Regions from separate parts of the Homo sapiens genome. Here all the other regions are linked to region 4. Evidence: promoter capture Hi-C in 16 types of primary human blood cells and fetal thymus (Javierre and others, 2016). All regions are on one chromosome and are shown on one strand. Each heading gives the region's core, a stretch centred on a gene start or on the middle of the fragment in contact. The rest is flanking DNA. Distances are from core to core; before and after follow the strand shown.

Region 1 (2,988 bases), core at 428-2,927, 640 kb before region 4:
GAAAACAAAATTTAAATGTTTTAATAAACTGCAGTTAAATTCTTTCAACAAAAGTAGAGTGTGTATAAGCAAGTAAAAACTAAAAGTTGTCTTGAAGTCTACCACTGTCATTTCCCTCCGTGTAATACTGCTCTACATTTATGAAACCCTGTTTTTCCTGTTTGATACATTTTCCCAAGAGCTTGCCCTAGAGCTAAATTTTTTAACGCTTCTCATGTATCACTTAAATAACAATTGTACTAAAGTTTGTTTTTATTACTGAAGGCAAAAACTCCATTTTTGCCTGCCCATAAAAAATCATTGTTGTATCTGACATTTTTAAAGTGTACATTTTAAAGTGTCCTATCACATAATATGAACATAGGAAGAGAATGTCATGTTAAAAATTAGCAAAGTAATTGTTTCTGCACAGAATGCATTTTTCAATTTGGGCAGTTCTCCCAGAATAAAGTAAACAAGTGAAGCAACTAGCATTCTTACTAGAACAGTGACAAGGCATTTTCTTTTTAGTTTCTTTTCACTTATTAGTCTACTAGGATACTTGAATACTGTCTCTATGCTGGTGTCTAAAACCCTCAAAGGAGAGTACAATTGCAGGATAAACGAAGAGTGTCCAGGAAGAGAACTAGACAAGAAAGGAAACAGATGGTCTCTGGGCTCGGTGAGCTTGGAAGCTGTCGAAAGCAAACTCGACTGGACCCTCCAAACTCCTATTTCAGATCAATACATAAGGTTCAGCTGAGTTCGGCCTCCAGGCCCAAGAAAGCAAAAGCCAGCAACCCGGGGGCTGGTCGGCGGCTCCCTCGCCAGGGACGCCCCACAGCGAGACCATGCCTCTCCCACCTCTACCCCCGAAAACCAAAACAAAACAGAACCAAGCCCAAGCGGTGCTTGCTCGTTTCTTTTGTCTTGCTCAACGCTGACCACTTTTTTTCCGGAGAAGGTTAACGTTAAGGGAGCCCGGGGGAGCTCTCTGCGACCCCGCCAGGTGCTCCCCGAACCCCCGGCCCCATCAGAGGAATGAGGCGACCACCGAGCGGCGTTGGGCGGCCAGGTCCTCCCCGGCACCCCCGCCCCGGCTCCTGGAGGAGGGCAGGGACTGCCGGCCTGGGGCAGCCAGGGACCGACGGGACCCCCGCAGAGCCAGGCCCGAGGCCCCGGGCGCCCCCACGACCCGGCGGCCGCCCAGGGCGCCCGCCTGGGGCCTCACCCCAACCGGGGACAGGGCCGCCGAGGGCCGGGCCAAGGCCGCCCGGCTTGTCCCCGAGGCCGCCGGGGAGCGTAGGCCGCCGCCATCCCCGGCCTGCCGTGCGCCCGCAGCCCGCGGCCTTACCGCCTCCACGGCGTGCTGCAGGATGGAGGTGAACTTGGAGAACATCCTGTCCCGGGACTGCAGCAGCCTCTCCCGGGACGACCTGGAGAGCTCCTCGATCCGCCGCCGCCGCCCCTGCTGCGGCTGCCGGGGCCGCTCCAGAGTGAAGGCCGGTGCGGGGCGGGGAGGACGAGCTGAGGATCGAGGCAGGGCCTGGCCCGGCCGCTTCAGGTGTGCGCGGGCGGCTCGGCGGCTCCGGAGGGCGCCGGGACGCGGCGGGCGGCGAGGAGGGCGTTCGGCGAGGACTCGGGGCCCGGAGAAGCTCCGGCGGCGGCACCGGTTGGGACACGGTGGCAGCCCGGCTCGGGTTCCTTCCCCCCGCTCTGCCCGCCGCGGCCTGCAGGGGGCGCCGCCGCAGCCCGGGGAGGCCCGGCCAGGCCTGCCCTGCGGCGGGGCCGCTAGGCGCCGCGGGGGCGGGGGGCGCGCTGAGGCCTCGGCCTCGCGCGGGGCTGGAGGCGGCCTGTGGGCAGCCACCGCCCTCTCCCGGCTTTCTCAGGGCGCCTGGGACACCGGCTTTCTAACATTTTTACAGCTCAGCGATTCTCAAGAGTTTTGTTTCTCCAGTGGAAGTAACAGGCTGACTTTGTAGGGACACGCAGCCGTCCATATATGCGTATAGCATTCAGAGGTTCTTCCTGTAAGGACCGATTTGGAAGACTCGTTAAGAAAACAGTGTTCTTTAAGCAAACATTGGCAATGGATTTAAATGCTCAGATTTTGAAGAAATCAACGACTGCAGGTGAAATGGCTTTGCTAACTTTAAAATATATTATTATTCAACATTGAAACAGGAAATCCCACATGAGCACATGGTAAGACGGCTGGCTTAGTTTAAATAGCCCATTATAATATTTATATATAATATATAACATAATTTATTTGTGATATGGTTGATAGTGAGGTGTAGTGATTCAGAACAGCATTTTCTATTCAGTTATCAGATGATACCGGAAAACATTAGCGAGGGAAAGAATCTGAAAGGAGTCCAGTAAATGCCTAAGGCAGATAAATAGAGCTACAAGGTAAGCACTTGGGTGGAGGCTGCTTAAAATACTCCCTAACAGTGTATTAGTCAAGCCTTGAAGAAGCAGTTCAGGCTGGTAAAGTTTAGGTTGAGTTAATACAAATTATGAAAATATTTGTATCCTGAAGAAATTTGTTTTATGCTGGTATTGGCGTTTTACCAAAAGGTTCATTAAGTTCTTAAGATGAGGTGGGGAGTGAGTTTTGCACAACCAGTGCTGAAAATACGTATCTGGCCCAGGCGCGGTGGCTCACGCCTGTAATCTCAGCACTCTGGGAGGCAAAGGCGGGAGGATCACTTGAGGCCAGGAGTTCGAGACCAGCCTGGCCAACATGGTGAAACTCCGTCTCTATTAAAAATACAAAAAAAAAAAAAAAAAAAAAATTAGCCGAACGTGGTGGTGTAATGGGATTACATGCTTGTAATCCCAGCTACTTGGGAGGCTGAGGCAGGAGAATCCTTGAACTCGGGAGGCGGAAGTTGCAGTGAGCCAAGGTTGCGCCATTGCGCTCCAGCCTGGACAACAAGAGCAAAACTCCATCTCAAAAAAAAAAAAAAAAATACACACACACACACACACACACACACACAC
Region 2 (2,700 bases), core at 148-2,647, 770 kb before region 4:
ACAGACTAACACAAAGTTGTTTGATAAAATTTTTCCTTTTCATAAATGTATGTATCTATATGGTCATTACATAAAATATGTTTCTTACTATGGGTCTTAGTCAAAAAAATTTTGAAAGTCACTAGATAAGATGATCTCTAAGATTCCTTCTAGTGCTTTTAAAAAAAGAAAAAATATTTATTAACAGTTTTTAACTACTTTTTATTAAAAAATAATCTTCAACATTAAACTCTTAATGATTTAGTTCTTTTAACAGGTACATAAAATTAAAAGGATAAGAAATATAAATAGCTAACAAGACAACGATGCCTATTTTTGAAATACCTAAGAACTAGGTTTCTGTAACAAGACGTGCCTGTGGTATTCTATTTATGTTACAGTCATTTTGAGGATCAGTGATTTCACTGTATGACATTCAGCTTTCGTAGCTGAACAGCAAATTGGCTGTTACAAAATTTATACCAGAGTCAATGATGTATTTACATTTTCAGTCATAATATTTCTGAAAATATGCCTGAAATTTACAAGTAAAATCTTTCAGTAATATATAGTGTGCTGTGTTTGTGGTTTGGGGGAGGAGGGGTGAACAACGAATATCTCAATGAACTCAACATATTTTATCTTGGTAAAAAAACCCAAACAAATTCCTTAACGTAAATATATCTTTTTTATTATTAACATAAAAGTGACTTGTTTATTGTATAGATTTTAGAAAATACCAAATAATGTGAAAAAAAAATCATCCATAATCCCATATTAAAGTAAACATTGTTCATCTTTGGGAGTTCAGAAACAAATATTAAACAACTGGCAAAAACCAGTATCAGAAACAGATTCTAAACTCTATGTGTCAGTAAGCACAGTATAAAAATTTACTGAGAAACTGTCAAACACCTTCATTCTAATGCAATTTTTATACTCTGTAATTTTTCAACACCAATATTTTGAAGATTACAGAGCAAGCCACACTGAAGCTTTTCATTTATCAGAGGCACTAAGATTCCTTCCAATTGAATGGCACAGATTTTTATGCCAGTTGATAACCAAAATGAGACATCACATGCAATATGTTCTCCGAGGCTTTTTAAAATCAATCGATCAATCAATCAATCAATCTATGTATCTATGTATCTATCTACCTACCTACCTACCTACCTATCTACCTATCTACCTACCTACCTACCTACCTTACTTATTATTTATTGAGATGGAGTCATCTCACTCTGTCACCCACGCTGGCGTGCAATGGCGTGATCTTGGCTCACTGCAACCTCCGCCTCCTGGGTTCAAGTGATTCTCCTGCCTCAGTCTACCGAGTAGCTGGTATTAAAGGTGTATAGCACCACGCCTGGATACTTTTTTTGGTATTTTTAACAGAGATGGGTTTCACCATGTTGGCCAGGCTGGTCTCGAAATCCTGACCTCAAGTGATCTGCCCGCCTCGGCCTTCCAAAGTATTAGGATTACAGGCATGAGACACCACGCTCGGTCAGGGCTTTTATTTTAATACTTAAACCACTACTACGTCAAGTGTTTTCCACAGGCCAGTTATCTATAATAAGTTCAGAAAATGAGATTGCGTAGAAACTTATTTAGCAATTTTACATTGCCGTATTTTAATTATATTTTACAAAAGTCATCAATCAGTCTGCAATGAACTGGAAATTGTTTTTTAAATGGTCTTTGACAACAGATTTTTTTAAAGAAACAAAAATCATTTTATCAACAATTTATATCACATTTAGAGCAAGAGTTTTAAAACAAAGTTTATTCCAGGAACATAATGAAATTTTTCGCTACCTCTTGGCATACTAAGCTTCCTTCCACGTGCATTTTCATTGACCCTTAGTCCCAGCACTTATAACCAGCACCTAATTACTCATTAGGATACAGATATTACTCTCTCTTTGAGAGATGGAAGAGACCCCTTCTACCAGCAGTTCACAGCTTTCCAGCCTCTCCTGCCTCCAAATAACCCCTTCTCTCTTCTATCAAGTGCCTGGAAAAGTGCTTTTGGATCTATTCAAGGTTACTCTCATATATGAACATACTTTATCATCTTAAAGAGGCCCTACTCTTTTCTTTAATAAACATTTATAACCATTGAACAAAGCATATTTTTGCTCAAAGGGCACAGTTTACAAAATGGTATTGTTTCTATAAAAATTCCAAGGTTTAAAAAAGTCTGTCACTAGAGTTTATGACCTCTAAGTCCCAATCATCTAAGAAATATGATGTTTTAAAAGTCTAAATATAATTTTGTTAAATGATGAGCACTGTAGCATTGTTTCTTTAAGTCTAATTGGTTTTTCAATTAAGAATTTCCAATTTTCAGTCTCGATATTTTCAATCTCAGATATGTTTATAGACATAATTAATACTCAGGAATGATACCCATTCATGCAGTTTACTCAGTTTATTTTTTATTTGATAAAAACCCAATACATGTAGATCATTAAGAACATTAAAGAAAAATAGAACTATTTCAGTATTCTTACCTTGGACCCTGACAACATACTGGTCAACATTTTTGTTCCGCTTCCAATTCCAACAACTACAAATCAAAGAAAGAAATATTATGACACTCTGTTCTGAAAACTAGGTTTTTAAAATAGCTATATTTTTTGGTCATAATTTCCCAGCTTAGGTAATGTGAAGTGGGAAAGAACAGATATTTAGCAAAATGTTAGGGCTCCTATT
Region 3 (2,801 bases), core at 191-2,690, 620 kb before region 4:
TTGAAATGGAGTGTATGGGAAAGGCATTAGAGATGATGAGGTCAAGAAGCTGAAAGTTCACGGTTTGGGATGGGTCACCCATGAGGATATGCAGGTCGTAAGATGATGGCAGGACTTGGAGTGAGGAGAACAACTGTCCCATGGCCCAGAAGTCTACAAGTAACAGCAACAAGGTGGGGTGGAGGTTGGTATAGCCAAATGGCTTAAAGCTAAAAGGAGTAGGAATTTTGACATGACAGTGGAAAAGCAAGGTCTGGGAGTAGCAGTGGGGAGGGAGGAGATTACCAACCTTAAAGATCATGTAGTTCAAAGACTTCTATAGATAAGGAAACTGGGGTCAGAGAGTGGTAGCCAGCCTCCAAGATATTCCCCAGTGAGCCCCACTTTATGGTATTCACACCCTTGTGTAGTACCCTCCTGCAGTGTACCAGGGTCAGTTTATGTGAAGGGTAGAATACAGCAGAAGTATGTTATGTCTGAGATTAGGTTTAAAGGCTAGTGTTCACTCTTGTCTAGTTGCCCTCTTGCTCTTGGGTCTTCACTCTGGGGAAAGCCAACTGACATATCACAAACAACCCTGGAGAGACCCACATGGCAAGGAACTGAAGCCTCTTGCCAGCAACCATGTGAGTGAGCTTAGAAGTAGATCCCCCAGCTCCAGTCAAGCCTTCAGATGACAGCAGTTCCAGCTGACATCTTTATCGCAACCTCTTGAGAATCCCTGAGCCCTGTGGGACCTGTTACGCCACTCCTGAATTCCCAACCCACAGAAACTGTGAGATAATATGTTTGTTGTTTTAAGCCTCTATGCTTGGGGTAATTTGTTAAGCAGCAATAGATAAATAATACTGAAAAATTTTGAAGCTTACCCAAAGTCACAAAGCTAGTTAGTGGCCAACATGAAGTGAGAACACAGGGCTCCTGCCTCTCAAGTCAAGGTTCTGTAAGATCACACATATCTGAGGATATCTTGGCCTCCTTTTGTAGTGGATGCCCATAAATTCAGGAGGTGGTAATAACTACCTGAAAATACTGAATAGGTCATAGTTTGGCTTTTTTATAGGCAAAATAAAATAAAAACAAGGACATGCTTTCTCATGGAATATGGAATAATATTTAGTATGATAAGTAATTTTACATCCCTACCATATAGTAATATGCAAGTATTTCTAAGGCAGGCTTATATCTTTTTGCCACAATTTCTGGAAGAATTGAGAGGATTAATTCAGGTTTGTGCGACCACTGAGTGGTAAAACCAGAAATGTAATTTCTTTTTTTTTTTTTTTGAGATGGAGTCTCGCTCTTGTTGCCCAGACTGGAGTACAATGGTGTGATCTCAGCTCACTGCAACCTTTGCCTCCCGTGTTCAAGCAATTCTCCTGCCTCAGCCTCCCAAGTGGCTGATACTACAGGCTCGTGCCACCACGCCTGGCTAGTTTTTTAATATTTTTAGTAGAGACAGGGTTTCACCATTTTGGCCAGGCTGGTCTCAAACTCCTGACCTCAGGTGATCCGCCCACTTCGGCCTCCCAAAGTGCGGAGATTACAGGTGTGGGCTACTGCACCCAGCCCAGAAGTGTAATTTCTACTAGGCTTCTTTTGACCACTTGACAAGGATGGCATAGTGGACCTGGTATTAGTTATCCCACTTAAGCACTTCAATGTAAGTCTGACCTTTTTGTGCGGTGAATGAGTGACAGGGTCTAGTGTCTGCATTCTGCCTATTCCCTCTAAATGTAATATTCAGAGAAGGGCAGACTGCCAGAAAGGCACTTTGTGTCTTCTATTTGCATGCCATAGACGCTACCATTTGTATGCGCATGACTATTAGGTCAAAGAATGTTTGTGTGACCCTTTGATTTATAATCTGGGTCTCAGTTTTTAAAAAATGTGATTATATGATATTTTTATTTTTTTCTTCCTTAAAAATAGAACTAGAAAAGTGAGAGGGTTGGTTTAAGTTTCATTAGAACATGGAGTTTTTTAAAAAATTAATCTCAAGTGTGTTCAAGCTTTCAATTTCCTTAAATCTCATAAAAATTCAGATGTATGTCCAATTATTCCTCATTACAGCCAGGAAGTTAATTTGCTGTCATATATTCTCAGCATTAGGGAGATTCTTGAATGTTTTCCTGTATTTTTTCTCACTATACTTGAAAAAAATAGATTTGCCAGCTATTCCCTGGTTTTACTTGTACTCCTGAGAGTCAAAGAAAGACAATTTTCACTTCCTTGACATTTTAGCACTTTCCTGGCTATGATCCAGCTAATTAACTGTGGGTCAAGCTTGCTTTAGATAAAGTACTATTTTATATTAAAAAGGTTAGTGATTAGTATGTAGTTTGAATTTTATTTTACAAAATTTCAGCATTAAAAAACATCAGCATCAAGAAACCCCAAAAAACACAAATATGTATCCTCAATTACTGATGTTACTCATTTTTCTAGTTGTATCTCATTTTTCAGAAACCTCAGATGTTCATAATCAAACTTACATTTGTAAATTCCTTTGATTTTTTAAATGAACCTATAAATGGTTCTTAGTAAAAATTCATTCATTCATTCAGCAAAACTTACTGAGTACTTATTATGTGCCAGGTACATTTTTTGGTTGTTGGGCATATGGGAATAAATAAGACATACGAAGTCTATGTTTTCATGGCACTTGCATTGTAATTGGGGATGAGAATCAATAAACAAAAGAGATATAATATATCAAATGGTGACTAAATGTAGTGAAGAGAAAATGAAGCAGGGTAAGAGGATAGCGAACACGAATAAGTAGAGGGGTCAAGCTATGT
Region 4 (2,833 bases), core at 269-2,768:
GATACTCAGCTGTCATTTTTTTCCTTCTCTGATGTTTGCTTTTGTCTTCCTGGCAACCCCATGTATTCTGCAAGAACCATTCTACTCAAAGAAAACACTCCGGTTTTGGCTGGGCGCTGTGGCTCACGCCTGTAATCCCAGCACTTTGGAGGCCGAGGTGGGCGGATCACCTGAGGTGAGGAGTTGGAGACCAGCCTGGCCAACATGGTGAAACCCTGTCTCTACTAAAAATACAAAAATTAGCAGGGCGCCGGTGGCTGGCCTGTAATCCCAGCTACTAGGAAGGCTGAGGCTGGAGAATCGCTTGAACCCGGGAGGCGGAGGTTGCAGTGAGCTGGGATCGCGCCATTGCACTCCAGCCTGGGCAACAAGAGTGAAACTCTTACTCAAAGAACAAACAAAAACACTCCGGTTTTAAACAGACAAAACGCAACGCTTCGGTAAAGCATGAGCTCTTAAGTCAGCCAGGTAAGTCTCGTCTTCCTCATTTAGCCACGCTATCTTGGGCAAATCACTTCATCTTTCTAGGATTCAGCGACTGTAAAATGCAGAGGGCAGTAGTTAACTTCCTCACAAATCCTAATCACGAGAATTAAATGAGAGACGAAGTAAATCACTTAGCACAGTGGCTAGTACTTCCTAAGGGCTTAAAGGGCAGCTATTATTTCTGCTTTACTTTTATACCACTCCTACAAGCACAAAATTTCTTCCATTCCTGTGGAACCAGCTTGCAGGCTTAAGATGAAAATAATTTGAGGACTAAAGTATTTTTATTTCGTTATTCCTACAGATAAACAAGGGAGACGTGGGAAGTTGGAATAACTTACCAAACCACCCAGGGCCAGCACCTTACACAGTTTAGATAAAAACGCAGGTCAGACTCCACGGCCTTGGATTTAAGCATACAGCACCGTGCTGCCTCACTAAGGAAGCTGGAAGCATTTAGCTCCCTTAGTTCAGAAGCCCAGCAGGGCTAACGTATTTATAGCAAGGACCCTAGGGCCCGGAAAAGCTACTGGCACACAGCAGGAACTCCTTAAACAAACTAGCGCCAGCTGACCCACATCTAAGTAAATGCCCTAGCACATCTTCCTTTCCTATAGGAGGAAAGTAGGGAAAAAAAAGTCTAGTAAATGTTAATATTGTTTGTATCGTAATTTTTAGTCAAACGAAGGCACTGAATCCACATGCAAGTTTCTCTTAGAGAGAAGGTGAACGTTTGCATTTGAAGGAGTGATGCCTGGAAGCGCTATTTCCAAACTCAGAGAATCCTCCCACACCAAACCCTCGCAGCAAGGTTCCAAGTCTCCTCTCTCCACTTCCAGGCCCCTTGTACCCGCTCAACGCCCAACCTCAACGTCCAGCGCCCAACGTCTGGCCCCCAACGACCGAAGCCCCCTCCCTTCCCCTTCATGCAGGCCCTCTCCCTCCCCTATACGCCTGGGAACCCTGACCTGGAAAGAGGCAAGAGGACCGCGGATCCGAACCTGTCTCTGCGGTCTGGCGGTGATGGCGACTGCCGATGCTGGGAGCCCTGCCGCCTGGGATGCGCCCTGCACTTCCCTCGCCTCCAATCCCCAGTGCGCCCTCCTGGCCTCAGCGCACGCCTGCGCACTCCGCGTCCACGTGCAACTCAATGTGCCCACGTGTTCCCTCCGCCTTCCCCGGAAGCAGCTTGTGCTCTAGTTACAGGCTCAAAAAGTTCCTTTGCAGAAACTTTTATTTTGTTCTAGCTTCTTCTAGAAAGATGTCTCTGGCAACGCCTTTGGCAAATTTGGGCGCAAAGATGCAGACTTTGTCTCCTCGAAGGTCACTTGGGTCACCGTGGCCACTTAAAGGTCTTCCAAGGTTTTCCAAATAATCAACAGCCTCTGCCTGGTCTTGGAAAGTAAACACACACGTGCTCATACTTTTTTTCTTTGCTTCCTGACTGAGGGCATGTGATTATACCTGTTGGTGTTACTTAAAGACAAGCTTTTTAAGTTTTGTTTTTTTTTTTTTTTGCTATGGAACTTTTCTAACAATTTCATAAGGGAACCCTTGTGTGCCTATCATCTAGTTTCTACCTTATCAATTCATGGTTAATCTTGTCTACATCTGCAGCCCAGGCACTCTTCGGGCAATGTTTTGAAGCAAATCCGAGAATTGTAAATGTGAGACAAAGTAGCGAACGTCTGCTTCTGGCCCCCAGCATAGTCCTCCCTCACTGTGAAAAAGCCACGTTTGTTCACTGTGTTTGTCAGCATTTCAGACCCCTTGACTTAGTAACATCTCAGCCCTCCAGAAGAATGCCTTGAAGACTGCGGAGAGAACTCAGGTTCCCACCTCTCAGAGTCACTGCATTTTTAGAAAAGATACTTTCAGAGATCTAGGCCTTGCCTTTTTCTGTACCTAACGGACAAGATTAATGATGATGCCTAGACTTACTCTCGCACCCAAACTTTGAAAATATTTTGATCTTATATAGCTTCTGGGCACTTTTAATGTAACCCCTGGGCAGAACCTCTACCACCTAATATTTAAAGTGTGCTGACCCACTGCTTTGGAGTAGTTTAACAGAAATTCTCTGGGCTCTCCCTGGTTGCAGTCCTCAGTAAGACTCTGAATAAAACTAACTTCACTAACTTCAATTCTTTAAAAGCCTGATTTTTTTTCTTTAGTTGATGTGTCTTTTAAATTTATTTTTTAGAGCAGTTTCAGATTTACAGAATAGTGAAATGAAAGTGCTGACTGGGCGTGGGGGCTCATGCCTGTAATCCCAGCACTTTGGGAGGCCGAGGCAGGCAGATCACTTGAGGTCTGGAGTTCGAGACCAGCCTGGCCAACATGGTGA
Region 5 (2,744 bases), core at 25-2,524, 750 kb before region 4:
CCCAGCACTGAAGTGTGACAAAGGTGTATGAAGTGCTGCCAATTAGGGAAGCTCACCTGAGCCTTGACATCCAGAGTTTTTATTGGGGATCAGTCATGTAGACACAGTGCCTCCATGACTGACCTTAGGTACTCAGTCTCTAGTCCCCTAGAGATCAAACTGATACAGCAGTAGCTCAGGGCCTTAGGTACACGAAAACGTTTTTATCAGACAGGATACTCCACGGGCTCAGAGGTTGTCTCCCAGGAGCCAGTAAAGGGTCAGTCATTTCTTTGAAATGTGCAGAACTTGAGTACCCCAAGCTTACTGTCTGTATTAGTCAGGGTTCTCTAGAGGGACAGAACTAATAGGATAGATGTATATATAAAGGGGAGTTTATTAAGGAGAAGTGACTCACACAGTCACAAAGTAAACTCCCTCTATAGGCCCAAGCTGAGGAGCAAGGAAGCCAGTAGTGGCTCAGTTTGAGTCCCCAAATGTCAAAAGTAGGGAAGCTGACAGTGCAGCCTTCAGTCTGTGGCCAGTGGCCCAAGAGCCCCTGGCAACAACTGGTGTAAGTCCAAGAGTCCAAAAGCCAAAGAACATAGAGTCTGATGTTTGAGGGCAGGAAATAGCCAGCACAGGAGAAAGATGAAGGCTGGGAGACTCAGAAAGTTGGCTCCTTCCACCTTCTTCTGCCTGCTTTTTCTAGCCATGCTGGCAGCCGGTTGCATGGTGCCCACCCACAGTGTGGGTGGGTCTTTCTGAGGGTGAGTCTTCTCCCGGTCCACTGACTCAAATGTTAATCTTTTCTGGCCACACCCAGAAACACCCAGATACTCCCAGAAATGATACTTTGCATCCATCCATCCAATCAAGTTGACACTTAATATTAACCAACACATGGCCTTAACCCTTTACTGCACAGTAAAGAAGCTGGCACTGGAACCCCTGCCTCCTCCAAATCCTTCAAAGCCTGCTATACCCACTGCCAAAGATCTTAGAGCAAAGTGAAGAATTACCTCTGGAGTAATTTCAGAAGACACAAATTGGGTACATATTTCAATTTTCAAAAGGAATTGAAGCCAGATTCAGTGAACCACAAGCAATAAATGTGGGCAAAATTCTAACATAAGTTCCTTATAAGATAGTTGTATAGGCTGGGCCTAGTGGCTCATGCCTGTAATCCCAGCACTTTGGGAGGCGGAGGCTGGCAGATCACGATGTCAGGAGTTCAAGACAAGCCTGGCCAGCATGGTGAAGCCCTGTCTCTACTAAAAATACAAAAATTAGCCAGGTGTGGTGGTGGGTGCCTGTAATCCCAACTACTTGGGAGGCTGAGGCAGGAGAATTGCTGGAACCAGGGAGGCAGAGGTTTCAGTGAGCCAAGATCGCACCATTGCACTCCAGCCTGGCGGATGAGAGTGAAACTCTGTCTCAAAATAAAAAAAGTTGTATAGAAAGGAAGTTGTGGTCATAAAAAACCAGAATGGGTTATTAATTCCACAAACATTTATCAAGAATCTACTATGTATAAAGCGTTGGGGATTTAGCAGTACAGAGTTTGGAATTCTGCAAATGTGTTTTGAGCGTCTGTGCCAGATGTGAAAGGAAAAGTTCCTACCCTCAGAACTCCTTTTAAACAAGTCATGTTATACTAACACAGTTCCTTCTTTGATAAGTTTCCTAGACTGGTAAGTGAAGGAAATCAGCAGGTATGGTTTACCTGCACTTAAGCAAACTATTTGGTAAGGTTTATAATGATATTCTTAAGAACAAGATGATGAAATGTGGGCATTGTAGGAAAAATTACATGGAATATTCACTGGGAAAGGATGCTGTTTAATGGATTAATGTCACTCAAAAGAGATTTTTGGTGTCGTGTAACAGGGCAGCATCTGGGGCCCTGTTCTGACCAAAAATTTAAGTATCATCGACTTGGATGAAGTTATAGAAAGTATGTTTACATCATTTACCATTGACAAGAAGCTAGGAAAAAAGAGTAAGCACATTTGAGAACAGAAAGACCTTCCAGAATGGTAAATTCTGAGCACTTAGCATATGTCAGCCATGGTGATTAGCACAACTCATTTAACCCACATGCAACTGAATTTTTACAGAAATGGACCATTAGGCCCTCACATGTGAATGCTAAAAAATAATTTTCAAGATCAGGTCATAGAAAATATAGGTTAGAGTCAACCTATATGAAAAGTCTTGAGGATTTCAGTCTAGAATGAGCCTTACATGAGTGCAATATAAGCTTTGTGTGAATATAAAATGGCCACCAGAACAGCGAATGTGATCTTGACAGCAATAACAGACTCATCGTGTCTAGAATGAGGGCATTGTTATCAGGTCCTGATAACATAACATGGCTGACTCTCTGCAACAGTTCATATTCCAGGTCTTTTTCTGTCTCAAAGACGCCATGTCCTCTGCTTTTGTTAAAAAAGCAATCTTGGCTGGGCATGGTGGCTCAAGCCTGTAATCCCAGCACTTTGGAAGGCTGAGGTGGGAGGATCACGAGGTCAGGAGTTCGAGACCAGCCTGGCCAACACAGTGAAACCCTGTCTCTACTAAAAATACACAAAAATTAGCTGGGCGTGGTGGCAGGCACCTGTAATCCCAGATACTCGGGAGGCTGAGGCAGGGGAATTGCTTGAACCCAGTGTGGAGGCTGTAGTGAGCCGAGATCGTGCCATTGCACTCCAACCTGAGCAACAGGTTGAGACTCCGTCTCAAAAAAAAAATTAATATTAGTG
Region 6 (2,981 bases), core at 417-2,916, 680 kb before region 4:
CATATTGCACAAACAGATACATTACGAGAAAGTTACATAGTTATAAGGTGAGTACTATATGGCAATAGGCTAAGACAAATCTGAGTTCTATCAAGTAAAGAATGCGGCTCATAACTAAAAACAAATCCAAAGACTATATTGTTAGAAAGTTTTAAAAAATGTGCATATTTATTGATACAAATGTGAAGCAAGGCTGAAATTCACTTTGGAACTTGCTATGGCAATCAATTGTTATGACGGTGCTTTCCACTCAGCATAGTGCATTTTAGTTACTGTTTTTGCAAGTACTGAGTAACAGAAATATTCAGCTGTCAACAGAAGGTAAGAAAAACTGGTGATGCAGTACAATGTTTCACTAACAAATTGAACTCACTGTGAGAGCTTCTACTGGCTCTAGGTCTGAACTAAATATAAAAGAAAAAAGAAGGGATGAAAAACAGAAACTTAGAAACAAATGAAATCTTAAGCCTTAGCTGATTACAAATTAAAGTCATTACAACAACTTAGAAAAATTATATTTTCAGAAGCAGCATACATATACACAAATATAAGAGTTAAAGCTTTTCTGAGCTTGGTTTCATGGACTAGTTATAAGGTCCCATAGTGGAATCAAGGATAAAAGAGTATTTGGTTTCAGAGGTAATATCATTGCTACTACACCTATTGAGCACTATGAAAACATTAAGAAATATCTAATATCTCTTAATGCCTTAGTTTAAATACTCATATATCAAAGTAGACTGTTACTACATCTAGAAATGTAAATGTCGAAGTTTTCCTTGTATGAAGTGATTAAAAAAATACAGCAAACTGAATGCCTTCACATCATTCAAAATGATTTAAAGAAAATTACGCACAAAATAACTATCTCCCACTTCTGTTTTTTCTTTGTTTTACTTAATAAATTTCTTAGAATAAGCTAACAAAGATTTGCATGAAATTAGAGGTTTAGTCTTTTTGTTGTTTTAACAGTGGTAAGCATTCTAGAGCTGAGGCTATTCATAATCTTTTGATATTCTGTTCTTAATAAATAGCAAGAACAAACTATGAAATAAACCAGAAAAGCTAACACAACAAAATGAGCAGATAGGTGTAAAACAAGCCTCTATGCACATGCCACACAATGCGTATATGCAAACATGCTACATAAAATAACTTCCTAGAGGGGGTAGTGACAGTTCCCTTCAAGCCGGAACCTTTGATAGCCTGTTCCCCCAAATATCAGTAAATGGAAAGATGAAGAAGAAAGTGCTGCGGCTTAACATGTCAAATAAAAACAAACAATAGCTTAAAAGCATTATTTGAGTGATCAGCATCACTTAAAGGAAAAATAGAAAGTGGACTGGCAAACACGATTTTGTCAATCAAGTACAAGCATGCTGTGCCCAGCGCAGCTTTGCTGAACTACAGGTTCCTACATGTACACCCATTCACATACATACCCAATTTCCCCAAATCCTTTAACATGTAAATAGGACATTTAAAACTCTGTTTTCTTTAATCTCTTTAGAATCATTTAAAACAAAAGACTGAACAAAATAGAAAAAAATGTAAACATCGAGGAGCCACTGGCACTTTGATTGCTGCCAAGGGTTATCAGTCAGTTCCCCACCTAGACACCACCATGCGTTTCAGTAAGAAAATCAAATTATAAAGCAATTTTATAAAGCAATTTTCTGAGAGGGAGAGGGGGGAAAAAGGTTCTCAACCCAGTACATGTTACTTAGCTTAAAAAAATACAATTTTAGCAAACACTACCAATGGTGAGCAAATTGAACACTGCTGCGAAAACGACACAGTTTAAATAAACTGGGACCCACACATGAAGAAAATCACTAACATGGCTATGTGCACAAAAGAGTAAAAGAACATTTCTTTAAAAATATAGATATATTATATTAATCAAGAATTTATCATATTAAATTGTTATTCTTAAAAAAGCTGAAGAAAGTTAATGGTGCTCTACACATTTTTATCGCCTATAATTAATTCATTCAATGGTTTCTGAATTGTATTTTTTTCTCATTTACAGTTTTCATATTTTGTTTGATAAGAATTCTGACCTTAAAAAGTTATAAAATTAGTGATTTTTTTTTGCTACTTATTAATCCAAAAGAATACAAGCATTTGAGTCCCAGAGAATGTCAAAATGCCTTGCTACCTAAAAGGACATTAATATAACAGAAATATCATCAAAGTCATGACATTGGAAATATTGCAGCTTTTCACAGTCATTAGAAATGCTTATTTCCTGAAGTTCCTTTGATTGTATCCTGGATTCAACAATGTGCAATTGTATATATAGAACCATTATGATAAAGCCAATGAAAACAACATTATACAACATTTCACCAAGAATGTCCACTCAATAGGTTCTTAATGGTTCTGTCCAGTTTACAGCAATACTGCGTTTAAAAAGGCTTTTTATCCTCTTGTGGCTGGGTGGAACTGAGTCTTTTTTGGTGAAATGTACACAGTAGTTCTGTTCCCCCAGTTACATGAAAGATGTTATTTATGGTGTGGAGGAAGCATGATATTTTACAAATGCGATTGCCGCCAGCTCCTTACAGAACTCTTCTAACACAATCACACCCTCTAGCAGTGTGATGTGGTCAATACTGGTAAGGAAAAAACAGACAATAAATCAATTCAAGATAGCAGCCGATCATTAAGTTCACTGAAATTTTTGGATTAAAAAAATGTAAAACACTAACTTACATAGGGCCTTCAGGTTCCAAACCAAGTAACCGCTTTCTGACTAACAGAAGCTTGGGAGTAAAGTCTTGAATACGCTGGATTCGAAGCATAAGGTCTCCAACAACCTGCATCACAGAGGCAAGGCACTTCAGTTCCTGAAATCAGCTACACAGACAACCTCAGGATCTAAAAAGAAAAATCTTCCTTCCCTACTATTTAATAAAGAACGTAAACTTTCACTACTCATATAATCATCTTTAACCAAGGACTCATACCTAATTCTT
Region 7 (2,700 bases), core at 107-2,606, 660 kb before region 4:
TGCACCTATGGTCCTAGGCCTTGGGAGGCTGAGTGAGGCAGGAATATTGCTTGAGCCTGGGAGGTTGAAGCTGTGGTGAGCTGTGATCATGCCACTGCACTCCAGCCTGGGCACAGAGCAAGACCCTGTCTCAAAAAAATTTAAAAAAAGAGAACCCAAGAAACTACTCAGGGGACATTTTTACCAGTGTCTTTAGGATAGAAATAAGATTTGCTTGAAATGCTGGTGCTCCCTCCCCCAATCCACATACCAAAACACAAAAAGACTCTTAACTGAAGCAAATTAGCAAATTGTTAGCTTCAAGGCAAAAGTATCTTGCTTTCCATTTGAACATAAGAGCAGAAATCAGATTACACAAGTAGGTTAAAATTCACCATAAACTAACTTCTCCCAGGGCCTATCATCATAGAAACATATTAAAGGCTGAATGAATTCAGGGTTCTACTTCCAAAGTTATATTATACTAATTATAAATCACTTTTATTGCTGTTAAAAGTATAGGTTAGACCAATCTTCTTGAGAAATTGAGTTCACAGAACATATTTATTAAAAGCAAACAACTCTATGGGACTCAATGAATACTCCAAACAATTTGCCAATTTCCAACAAAATCAATGGCATATTGGCCGGGTGCAGTGGCTCACATCCCAGCACTTTGAGAGGCTGAGGCAGGCGGATCACTTGAGGTCAGGAGTTCGAGACCAGCCTGGCCAACATGGTAAACCCTGTCTCTACTAAAAATACAAAAATTAGCTGGGCGTGGTGGCATGTGCCTGCAATCCCAGCTACCAGGGAGGCTGAGGCAGAATAATCACTTGAATCTGGGAGGCAGAGGTTGCAGTGAGCCGAGATCATGCCACTGCACTCCAGCCTGGGCAACAGAGCAAGACTCCACCTCAAAAAAAAAAAAAAAAAACCAATGGCATATCATACTCTTTATGAAAGTAAAACATTTCATTCAATTTAAAATACTAGTAATATTGTTGGGAGAGGCGTCTCAAATAAGAACAGCAAGAGGAAGGATGTTAGTATAGCACTCTGTCCTTCAATCAATGTTTCTCAAAGTAAGACTCAAGATTGTTGGTATCCTGGTCTTCTGTGGGGCTTGATAAAAATGCAGATTCCTGGGTCCCATCCGGACCTGTTGAATATCTGGAGGTGGAGCCAAGGAATGTGCATTTTAGAAAAATTTCCTAGGTGATGAGGAACTGTGGCTTTAACACTTTGGTTCCTACTAAAACTGTTCCCCTTCTGTTTTAGGGATCTCATCAGTACCCACAACATAGTCACACACATAGCTTCTAAATCTCTTAAACTTAAACTTCCCTCCCAAATCAAAGATTTGCAATACCGAATACCTGCTAATTATCTCCATCAGGAAATCATGATGACTCAAAGCATCCGGAACCAAAATTATCATCTTCCCCTCAAAATCAGCTCCCTTGGGGCCCCTGTTTTTCTACTAGCAGCAGCCTTATTGGTTCAGGAATTCCAGCATTCAAATCATCCTTTCCCAGCTTCTGCATCTGAGCAGTTACAAGGCCATATAGAGCCTACCTCTAGTCTGAAGTTACGCATTTCATTCCAACCCACTGCTTCCAACTTGGTCGTAGTCCTTGTTACTTCTTGCCTGGGTTACTCCATCAGTTTCCAAATTAGTTTCCCTGATTTTATCTCTCCTCTCAAAGAATCTGCCATATAAAAGGCTGCTGCCAATTTAACTTAAGGCACAGATACCATCACATAATAACATCCCTGCTCAAAAATAGTTAATGGCTCCCCAGTATCTACAAGTAAGAATAAACTCTTCACCTTGTCATTCAAAGCCTTTGACAATACTTAGTCTATCTGTTCAGGTGCTTCTTGCCACACATCTTAATTATACTGTTTCCTGAACACACCACAAACTTTTACATCTTCATTCCTTATGTTCACCCACTCTAAACATGTCAAGGCTCATTTGTCTGTATTTATTTATTTTTTATAGAGATGAGGTCTTGCTATGTTGCTCAGGCTGATCTCGAACTCCTGGGCTCAAGCAATCTGCTTGCCTCAGCCTCCCAAAGTGCTAGGATTACAGGTGTGAATCACCGCGCCCAGCCTCATTTCAAAGATGACCTCTTCCAGGAAGACTTTCTTGATGACCTAGAGCTGATGAATCTCTCCATCCTGTAAGTACTTAAGGAATTTACTTTGTATCTTTCCTTTGATTCTCACCTTACTCTACTTTAGATTACAGTATCTGAACATTCATTTACTGTCTTCACCAGACTGTAAACTCCTTTAGGACAAAGACTGTTTCTTTTCTTTTTTTTTTTTTTTTTTTTGAGACAGAGTCTCGCTCTGTCGCCCAGGCTGAAGTGCAGTGGCGTGATCTTGGCTTACTGCTACCTCTGCCTCCTGGGTTCAAGCAATTCTCCTGCCTCAGCCTCCTGAGTAGCTGGGACTATAGGCATGGGCCACCAAGCCCGACTGATTTTTTGTATTTTTAGTAGAGAAGGGGTTTCACTGTGTTAGCCAGGATGATCTTGATTGATCTCCTGACCTTATGATCTGCCCGCCTCAGCCTACCAAAGTGCTGGGATTACAGGCATGAGCCACCGCGCCCGGCCGGCAAAGACTGTTTCTAACTCATCTACCATATATATTTAACCAATAGTAGATGCAAATATTGGCTGACAGTAATGAATAGAGAAAGAT

Evidence for each region. Contacts are between HindIII fragments. The CHiCAGO score rates a contact against its expected background, and 5 or more counts as called.
Region 1: the fragment with the promoter of FHIP2A here is called in contact with the fragment with the promoter of TDRD1 in region 4 in 16 of 17 cell types (naive CD8 T cells, total B cells, activated CD4 T cells and 13 more); the score reaches 34.7 in naive CD8 T cells.
Region 2: a contact is called between a fragment that was not itself captured here and the fragment with the promoter of TDRD1 in region 4, in 4 of 17 cell types (total CD8 T cells, naive CD8 T cells, activated CD4 T cells and 1 more). The highest score is 6.6, in total CD8 T cells.
Region 3: a contact is called between a fragment that was not itself captured here and the fragment with the promoter of TDRD1 in region 4, in 7 of 17 cell types (naive CD4 T cells, total CD4 T cells, naive CD8 T cells and 4 more). The highest score is 8.4, in naive CD4 T cells.
Region 5: a contact is called between a fragment that was not itself captured here and the fragment with the promoter of TDRD1 in region 4, in 4 of 17 cell types (activated CD4 T cells, naive CD4 T cells, total CD4 T cells and 1 more). The highest score is 7.3, in activated CD4 T cells.
Region 6: a contact is called between a fragment that was not itself captured here and the fragment with the promoter of TDRD1 in region 4, in 1 of 17 cell types (total CD4 T cells). The highest score is 6.9, in total CD4 T cells.
Region 7: a contact is called between a fragment that was not itself captured here and the fragment with the promoter of TDRD1 in region 4, in 1 of 17 cell types (total CD4 T cells). The highest score is 5.5, in total CD4 T cells.

The regions. Positions count from the first base shown.
Region 1 is chr10:114,820,469-114,823,456 of GRCh38, reverse strand. FHIP2A (FHF complex subunit HOOK interacting protein 2A) reads right to left here and starts at 1,677. Exons shown (of 17, transcript NM_020940.4): 1 at 1,334-1,677. The coding sequence starts at 1,378. It overlaps LOC124902508 (translation initiation factor IF-2-like), which reads left to right and starts at 509. Exons shown (of 2, transcript XM_047426127.1): 1 at 509-2,184. The coding sequence starts at 1,356. The coding sequence ends at 1,961. RefSeq lists silencers at 979-1,198, 1,259-1,608, 1,619-1,928 and an enhancer at 773-1,273. The HindIII fragment of the contact is 9,749 bases long and covers 1-2,988 here.
Region 2 is chr10:114,950,948-114,953,647 of GRCh38, reverse strand. TRUB1 (TruB pseudouridine synthase family member 1) reads right to left here. Exons shown (of 8, transcript NM_139169.5): 3 at 2,499-2,554. Among named protein-coding and RNA genes, the nearest start is that of TRUB1, 14 kb to the right of the region's middle. RefSeq lists a silencer at 332-381. The HindIII fragment of the contact is 842 bases long and covers 977-1,818 here.
Region 3 is chr10:114,794,195-114,796,995 of GRCh38, reverse strand. It overlaps a transcript of ABLIM1 not described here. Among named protein-coding and RNA genes, the nearest start is that of FHIP2A, 26 kb to the left of the region's middle. The HindIII fragment of the contact is 1,148 bases long and covers 867-2,014 here.
Region 4 is chr10:114,178,038-114,180,870 of GRCh38, reverse strand. TDRD1 (tudor domain containing 1) reads right to left here and starts at 1,518. Exons shown (of 25, transcript NM_001395205.1): 1 at 1,455-1,518. The HindIII fragment of the contact is 8,256 bases long and covers 1-1,976 here.
Region 5 is chr10:114,929,293-114,932,036 of GRCh38, reverse strand. No RefSeq gene overlaps it. Among named protein-coding and RNA genes, the nearest start is that of TRUB1, 7.5 kb to the left of the region's middle. The HindIII fragment of the contact is 1,940 bases long and covers 305-2,244 here.
Region 6 is chr10:114,861,072-114,864,052 of GRCh38, reverse strand. FHIP2A (FHF complex subunit HOOK interacting protein 2A) reads right to left here. Exons shown (of 17, transcript NM_020940.4): 16 at 2,719-2,822; 17 at 1-2,618. The coding sequence ends at 2,513. Among named protein-coding and RNA genes, the nearest start is that of FHIP2A, 41 kb to the right of the region's middle. The HindIII fragment of the contact is 2,208 bases long and covers 563-2,770 here.
Region 7 is chr10:114,839,509-114,842,208 of GRCh38, reverse strand. The region is part of intron 5 of FHIP2A (FHF complex subunit HOOK interacting protein 2A); the gene reads right to left. Among named protein-coding and RNA genes, the nearest start is that of FHIP2A, 19 kb to the right of the region's middle. The HindIII fragment of the contact is 4,538 bases long and covers 1-2,700 here.